3 separate regions of the Homo sapiens genome follow, and all the other regions are linked to region 3. Evidence: promoter capture Hi-C in human tissues and cell types (Jung and others, 2019). All regions are on one chromosome and are shown on one strand. Each heading gives the region's core, a stretch centred on a gene start or on the middle of the fragment in contact. The rest is flanking DNA. Distances are from core to core; before and after follow the strand shown.

Region 1 (2,700 bases), core at 195-2,694, 450 kb after region 3:
ACTCGGTTAGGCTGGGCGCAGTGGCTCATGCCTGTAATCCCATCATTTTGGGAGGCTGAGGCGGGTGGATCACAACGTCATGAGTTTGAGACCAGCCGGGCCAACATGGTGAAACCCCATCTCTGCTTAAAAAATACAAAAATTAGCCGGGCATGGTGGCGTGGGCCTGTAATCCTAGCTACTCCGAAGGCTGAGGCAGGAGAATTGCTTGAATCCAGGAGGCGAAGCTTGCAGTGAGCCAAGATCACGCCACTGCACTCCAGCCTGGGCGACAAAGCAAGACTTCTTCTCAAACAAAACAAAAAACAAAACAAACAAACAAACAAAAAATGACTGTGTTAACGACTGGCTTGCAAAATTTCTGAAAATTCACAATTGGCTCCGGAGGATGGGGTTGATCCAACTCCAGGCTGACACTGCCCCTGGGGTGAGGGCCCCCAGGAATTGGAGGGCGGGGGCTGAGGGGACGGTCCCTTAAGGCCTTATGCCCACAGTCGCCTTTTCCTCCCCCAGATCCTCTCCTTCATCCTGCACACAATCGTGCGAGGATTCATCCACTCCGCTGTCGGGGGCCTGTACGCTGCCGTGTAAGTCCTGGAAGCCGCAGGTGGCCTGGTGGGCGAGGGTGTGGGAATGGCCGGGGGGAGGTTGCTGGTGGGACTGAGACTCTGAGGCAGGGTCAGCCTGTCCCAGAAGGGCTCATCTTCCTGCTTCAGGGGACAGGTACCAGGGTTTCTGCTGGGTGTTTCAGGGAAAGGCCATACCTCGTGGGAAGCAGGTCAGTGGGCAGACAGTTGGGTGCTCACAAGCCTTGGCATTCAACACGAAGTCAGTTCCCCCAGCCAGGGTCAGGCACCTGTGCAGCTCATTATGGCCTCAGGGGCCACTACAGCCGAGTCCTGGGGCTGGCCCTGGCTGCTCACTGGGAAGGATGGGTAGGTTCTGGCTGCCTGAAGCTAAATGCGGAAGTTCCAGTTGCCCTCATCACGGGCAGCAACATGGGTGACTGAGTCCAGAATACACCAGACGGGCCCATCCAGAGCCTCAGTGCGCCCAGCTCTGGCCATAGCTTTCTCCAGCCCTGGCTAAAATGAAACCTGTATCTTTTTCCAAGAAGCCCCAGAAACATAAAAGGAACCACAGTGGTTCCTTCTTCTCTGGCTCAGGCCTTGACCCAAAAACTGAAACTCAAACATCATCATCCACAGTCTCTGATGTGGGACCAGCTCATGTGTTGCTGGGATTCCTTTCCCACCTCTGGGCCAGCAGAGCCTGACATGTGCTAAGATTTAGCCCGGAACTCTCTCCCAATTCCCGCAACAGCCCCTGGGGTAATCCCAGCTCCGCTTGCCCTCCGCCTGCCCCTCCCCAGGCCTGGAGGAAGCTGTGGCTGTCCTGGCAGGGTCTGAGGGAGGGGGGCGGGATCTGTGGTGCTGAGTTTCCGCGATTACTCAATGCTTCTCTGGACGAGGGCACTGCAGAGCCAAGCCCAGCCTCCACACTCCTCTCTGGGCCTGTTTCCCAAACCGCAGGTCCCCGCTGGCACCACGCTTTCCACTCGGCTCAGCCAGACACCCACAGGCCCTGGGCACAGCTGAGTGGGGTGGGCCCTCCCCAGAGTCTGGGGCCTGGAGCTGGTCCAAAGAGAAACACTTTGCAGAACCACCCAGCAGGGCCGGGCGCGGTGGCTCACGCCTGTAATCCCAGAACTTTGGGAGGCCGAGGCAGGCAGATCACAAGGTCAGGAGTTTGAGACCAGCCTGGCCAACGTAGTGAAACCCCGTCTCTACTAAAAATACAAAAAATTAGCCAGATGTGGTGGCGGGCGCCTGTAATCCCAGCTACTAGGGAGGCTGAGGCAGGAGAATTGTTTGGACTGGGGAGGCGGAGGTTGCAGTGAGCCGAGATCGTGTCATTGCACTCCAGCCCAGGCGACAGTGCAAGACTCCATCTTAAAAAAAAAAAAAAAAAAACAGAACTGCCCAGCAGGAAGGAATCCGAGGGCTGGCACCCCACCCTTCTCTGGCACCAACGGTGCAGCCCGGGGTCACCAGACACCTGGGGCCAAGCAAAGCCCAGGAGGCAGGATGGCTGTGAGCTGTCGCTTGCCCTGCAGGTACCCCTCCACCCAGTTCGGCAGCCTCACGGGACTGCAGTCTCTGATCAGCGCGCTCTTCGCCCTTCTGCAGCAGCCGCTGTTTCTGGCCATGATGGGTCCTCTCCAGGGAGACCCTCTGTGGGTAAGAGGGGTCGGGGGATGGTGGGTCATGGGCGCCTGCCCCCTTCTGCTAACTGCGAGCTGCAAGGTCCCCCTCGGGGGCTTCAGGGCCCCGAGGACATGTGGGAGCGTTGGTTAGGATTGGTTAAGAGTCCCTTTGTGAATGGTGGCTAGGCAGGAAAAGGAACATGTCCTCTCTGGACCTGATTTGGGGAGAAATAGAACAGAGTTCCTGGGCCGGGCGCGGTGGCTCACACCTGTAATCCCAGCACTTTGAGAGGCCGAGGCGGGAGCATCACTTGAGGTCAGGAGTTCAAGACCAGCCTGGCCAACATGGTGAAACCAGGTCTCTACTAAAAATACAAAAATTAGCCAGGTGTGGTGGCAGGTGCCTGTAATCCCAGATACTCGGGAGGCTGAGACAGGAGAATCACTTGAACCCGGGAGGCGGAGATTGCAGTGAGCTGAGATTGCGCCACTGC
Region 2 (2,700 bases), core at 152-2,651, 400 kb after region 3:
CTCCAAGCGTTGTCTGGGGGAGGTTGCCCTCGCCAGGTGGCCCGGGCGGATTCTAGACAGTAGGGGGCACACTCGGACTGGGGCAGGTGGAGCAAGAGGCGTTTGGGGCTCCCACAGCCCTGGGGTGGTGGTGGGGTTTTATTTTTGGTTTTTATTTTGGTAGAGATGGTTCTCGCCATGCTGCCCAGGCTGGTCTCAAACTCCTGTCCCCAAGTGGCCCTCCGACCTTAGCCTCCCAAACCGCTGGGATTCCAGACGTGGACACCGCGCGGCAGCCCTGGGGTGCTAAGCCAGCCCCCCGGAGCGAGCCAGGGTGACCAAGGCGATTCTGGGGCAGTCAGAGGGTCTTCCCGGGTCGGGTTAGTGCCTCGAATCCGGGGGACGAAGACGGGGAGCTGAGCTTTCGGAGCCCGGGCTTATCAGACGGGGACCCGGAGCCCCCTCGAACCCTCCCTAGCTTGTACCAGCTGGCGGACGTGGCCCGTAGCATCGCCCTGCAGAGGGGACCTTCCCTGAAAGGGACGGGGAACGGGGTGAAGGTGGCCAGCGCGGGCAGGGAGCACCCAGATGACGATCAAGGGTGGAGGGTCCCCGGAGGACCGAGCAGTGCGTGAACACGGGCGGAGAAAGGTCAGTCTGATGGGGGGAGCTCAGGAGACCCCATCCTAGGACGGGACAGACCAGCCCCAAATCCCCTTGCAGATTTCCAAGGGCCAACTTCCAGGGACCGGGCAGACGCCACCGGGGAGAGGGGAAGGGGTCGGTGCATCAGCGGGGGGCGCCACGGCTGGACCGGGTCCGGGATCCCAGGCCCCGAATACGCCGGGACGGGAACCACCGGGGCGGGGGAGCGAGGAACCAGGACCCAAAGCCCGAGGCGGCGGGGACGGCGGCGCTGCGTGGGGAGGAGGCGGGGTGGGGATTCGAGAGTGGAACCACCGTGCGGAGCCGGCGCATCTGGGCGTGGTGACCCGCGCGCAGGGGGCAGCTGGGGACGGCGGGGCGGCCGCGGGAGAGCCCGGCTGGGGGCGCTGGTGGCCCGGCGGCTTCTGGGGGGAGTCCGCTGGGGGCCGGGACGCGGAGCCGGAGCCCCAGCCTCGCAGGGTCAGGCCGCTGGAGAGGCCGCGGGGCGATGTCGCCGGGGATTCCCGGCCGCGCTGTGACTCGGGTTGAAGGCTGCAAAGCCGAGGCCCGGCCCGCAGCGCCCAGGCCCCTCCCGTCCCCCATCTCTCTTGTTTGTCTCCGAGTCCGGCCGGAACCGGCTTCTGCTCGCGGCGGGGCGGGCGGGGGGCTGGCTGCTGATTGGTCGACGCCTGTTTCCAGCCCCGCTCAGCCAATCAGCGGGCGGCAGTGTTTTCTTCTTGGGGTCGGAATAAAAGGGCTGGAATAAAAGAGGGCAGAAAAGGCGCCGGGCGGGCCCGACACACGCCGGAGGAGCCGGGTGAGCTGCAGCAGGGAGGGGATCGCGGCCGGGGCGAGGGCGCGGGGGCAGAAGCGGCCGCCGAAGGGGCGTAGGGAGAAAACGTGGGAACGAGGAGAGAGATGGAGCGATGAGGGGCCGCCAGGGAAGAGATGACGAACAGATGCGGGCTGGGGAATGGAGGCGCGGGGGTCCGAGGCCATGGAAACGGGCGAGTTGCCGGGGGAACGCCCGAGATGGGGGTCGCGCGGCTGGCTCGCGCCACCGGTTTGAACCGGCTCCTCGTCTCCCACGCTGGGTTCGCGTGGCCGCAGCGCCTAGCGACCTAGACGGCGGCCAATGGCGCGGCAGTTCCTGCGCCGTCCGGCCAATGAGCGCGCCGGGGCGGGCCGTTCCGTAGGTCTGGGCGCTGATCTTGTGGTTGAAGAAACCAGCTCTGGGGAAGGGTCTCGGGCGCGGGCGGGAGGGCACCTGTCAGGGTCCCTGGGAGAGGCAGCCCTCGGATCTGCCCCTGCCCACCTCACGCTGCGTTCCATGCTGGCCCCAGGCGATGTCAGTCCTGCTGCAGGCCAGGACTAGTTCCACGGCCCTGAGCATGCGTTAGCCCCTTCTTGCCTCCATGCCTCAGTTTACCTCGGAGTGAGCTGCGGGAGACGTCTCCCTGCCTGGCCGGGGCGGCTCTGTCGTAGCGGAGGGCAGCGGTACGAGCCGGCCGCGGGCTCGGGGTGTCCCAGGTCCGGGCAGGGCTGGGGTTCGCTTCCTCTGCTGCGCGCACCGGCCGCCGCGGCCGGGGAGGGGTGGCAATCCCGAGCCCTGCGGCAGCGGTCGGGGCTGCTGGGGGCGGCCGCAGGGGCTGGGCAAGGGCCGGCCGCTGACGCCGAGTTCTGTGCGCAGGTGGTGCAGAGCCGGAGCCGGAGCCGGAGCCGCGCCGCGCCGCACCATGGCGCCCACCCTGGCCACTGCCCATCGGCGCCGCTGGTGGATGGCCTGCACGGCCGTGCTGGAGAACCTCCTCTTCTCGGCAGTCCTCCTGGGCTGGGGCTCGCTGCTCATCATGCTCAAGTCAGAGGGCTTTTACTCCTACCTGTGTACCGAGCCAGGTGAGACAAGCGCCTGGGGTTGCGGGGGGCTCCTGGAGCTGGGGCTTTGGGAGGGGGCGGGATGGGGGCGAAGACCTAGCGAGCCACAGCACCGCATTGCCCAGTGCCTCTAGGGTATCAGAAGGCCCATCTGATCCTCACCCAGCCCTGCCGGGTACTTGTCATTGCCCCTGTTTTGTG
Region 3 (2,700 bases), core at 4-2,503:
ATTTTTAGTAGAGACAGGGTTTCCACCATGTTGGCCAGGCTGGTCTCAAACTCCTGACCTCAGGTAATCCGCCCGCCTCAGCCTCCCAGAGTGCTGGGATTACAGGTGTAAGCCACCGTGCCCGGCCACGCACGGCTATTTTTTATTTTTTTGTGCATACAGGGTCCCCCTATGTTTCCCAGACTGGTGTGGAATTCCTGGGCTCACACAATCCTCCTTAGCCTCCCAAAGTGCTCAGACTAAAGGTGTAAGCCACTATGCCCTGCCCCGACAATTAAGCTTAGTTCAACCCCGTTATCTCTTCAGGAGCCACAGAGTCTGAGGATATGAAAAGGCAAGAAATTAACTTATTCAACGAATATGTATTGAGACTGTGCTATGTGCCACAACTTCTGCTAGGGCCCCACACTATGATAGGAGGGACCCGCCCAGACATGAGGCTTCACCCACTGTGTGGGCGGCGGTGGGGATGGTCCAGCGGAGGCTGGGGCCCTGAGATCAGATTTGAACGTTACCACTGCTATGGTTTTTGGCCAGTTGTTTCAAAAGCCTTGGACAATCAGCCTAGGCTTCCTAGGCCCATTACAGATCCTCCTCTGACAGGTCCCTAGTGGTCGCTGGCGTGTAAGGAACTGCTAACATTAGCCCTTCAATGTGTCCCAGGGACCAGTAGGCACCTCCTCCTTTATCACGTGGCTATGATATGTTTACATTAACATTCCCCCAGTAGACTGAGATCTCTGATTCTAGTACCTGCACCCAGCGCAGGCCTGGCATTCGGTGGGCGCTCAGTTAATGCCTGGCGAATGAAACCTTTTGCCTCTTCCCTGAAAGCATTCCCTGAGGGCGCACTCGTAAAATGCCCGCTGCATCTGGCCTGGCCCTTTCCCTCCCCGTCGAGTCCATTTTATCCGTCTACCCGCCAAGACAAGGCTGTAGTTTCCGATTGGAGGATTAAGGGCTGCTCTCGGTCGTGCCCTAAAGCTGCAAAAGACTGGTACCCCTGGGCTCCGGCTGACAGCGACCCCGAGCTGGTGACAGCGGCCCAAGGCGACTAACAGCGGGATCTAGCGGAGAAAGGCGCCGCCGCCGTTAAAGGGGGTTGGTCCTGTCCCTAACTTGGGGGCCCCGCCCCGAGATGCGAGGTCTGGAGGGCGCAGCGTTCCAGCACCCACCTCTGCCAGGGCCGTCTCGGCCGCCCTGCTCCGCTGCCCCGGATACGACCAGCGCCGCCATCACCTGCCTGCGCATGTGGTACTAAAAAGACAGCGCTGGAAGAACGCGGAGAGCGCAGACATTGCGATCGATCGCCGATCGGCCAGCGGGGGCGGGGGATACCCGCTGGGCGGGGCCATAAAGGAGGAGATAGGGGCGGGGCTGTAGTGGGCTCCACCCCAGCCCAGAATGCCGGGACTCAGGATTCCCTAGAGGTCCCCGACTATGCAGTTGCCCTTGCCCTGCGACTTAGTCTCCCACTCCTCTCCCCGGCCGGGCACGAGCCTGGCACTCCCGGACCGGTGCTCTCCTATGTGCGAACTCCCTGCACGAACTCTGCAGGCCGAGTCTTGTGAAGGGGACACCCACCAGATGTTCCTTGAGCCCCCCCTGCCAGTCTCCCCTCCTGGTAAGCAGTGGTCGGTCACCCGGCCGCCGTGTGGGGCCACGTTCCCTACCTAGGGGGACTCTACTGTCCGGCAGGACAGAACTCAGGGACCACCAGCCCAGCTCCAAGTTGAGAGTCTTGGTGCAGGTTTGTGGATCGCCCTTATCAGCTTTTTAAATTATTTTTTTTGAGACAGGGTCTTGGTCTGTCGCCCAGGCTGGAGTGCAGTGGTGCGATCATGGTTCACAGCAGTCTCAACCTTCTGGGCTCAATTCATCTTCCTGCCTCAGCCCCCTGAGTACCCGGGACCACAGGCGTACGTTCAGCTAATTTTTTTTTTTTTTTTTTTTTTTTTTTTTAGTAGAGATAAGGTTTCACTATTTTGCTCAGGCTGGTCTTGAACCTCTGGACTCAAGCAATCCTCCCACTTTGGCCTCCCAAAGTGCTGGGATTACAGGCGCGAGCCACTGCACCCAGCCTTTATCACCTTTAGAATCCACTGCGTAGACCCTGTAGAAACTGCCCCTCTGGGGAAGGCCCACAGCCTGAGGGTGCTTTCCTGGGAAGGTGGGCAGTGGAGGACTGTGATGTCTAACCCTTCTGGACCCTGGCCAACCTTTGCCCTGCCCCTCAGGGCTGGTCTTTCTCCTGATCACTGGCCAGAGCCCCAGAGACCCCAAAGAGAAGACAGCCAGTGAGACGGCTTTGACCTGTGGAAGAGCAAAGTACCTGCAGGACTGGCCCTCAGCAGTCTGTCCCGTGGAACAATGGTCTTCCAGGTCTGACGGTCTACCCAGCCCCCTGGCATCCTCCTCCTCTCTCTGCGGTGGTGCTGTGATCACAGCTGGCCCTTTAAGTCAGCTCTGTGTCCTCGGGCTCCCCCAGAGGCCCTCCCTGCTTGGAAACCCCTAATTAAGGTGCAGGGAGAAGTAAAAACAAGCAGCCAGAGACAGGCCCTGCCTGGGAGGCTGCCCAGAGAGGAGGAATGGCTGGACAGGCAGGGAGTGAGCAGCTGAGGGACCATCACCAAGGGTCAGTGCTGTGCCCCCCAGGCCACCGGCACTCTTAGGACAGGTAGCTCTAGACAGAAAAGTGAC

What was found. Contacts are between HindIII fragments. The study calls those that stand out against the background at their distance.
Region 1: a fragment that was not itself captured here is called in contact with the fragment with the promoter of DPH1 in region 3 in 1 of the 25 tissues and cell types used here (dorsolateral prefrontal cortex).
Region 2: a contact is called between the fragment with the promoter of SLC43A2 here and the fragment with the promoter of DPH1 in region 3, in 1 of the 25 tissues and cell types used here (bladder).

Annotation. Positions count from the first base shown.
Region 1 is chr17:1,576,137-1,578,836 of GRCh38, reverse strand. SLC43A2 (solute carrier family 43 member 2) reads left to right here. Exons shown (of 14, transcript NM_152346.3): 12 at 514-587; 13 at 2,117-2,240. Among named protein-coding and RNA genes, the nearest start is that of PITPNA, 15 kb to the right of the region's middle. RefSeq lists enhancers at 74-884, 885-1,696, 1,697-2,508, 2,509-2,700. The HindIII fragment of the contact is 6,207 bases long and covers 1-2,700 here.
Region 2 is chr17:1,627,535-1,630,234 of GRCh38, reverse strand. It overlaps SLC43A2 (solute carrier family 43 member 2), which reads left to right and starts at 1,401. Exons shown (of 14, transcript NM_152346.3): 1 at 1,401-1,441; 2 at 2,315-2,520. The coding sequence starts at 2,361. RefSeq lists enhancers at 2,153-2,690, 2,691-2,700. The HindIII fragment of the contact is 9,222 bases long and covers 1-2,700 here.
Region 3 is chr17:2,028,706-2,031,405 of GRCh38, reverse strand. It overlaps DPH1 (diphthamide biosynthesis 1), which reads right to left and starts at 1,253. Exons shown (of 13, transcript NM_001383.6): 1 at 1,176-1,253. The coding sequence starts at 1,236. RefSeq lists enhancers at 322-913, 914-1,505. The HindIII fragment of the contact is 15,169 bases long and covers 1-2,700 here.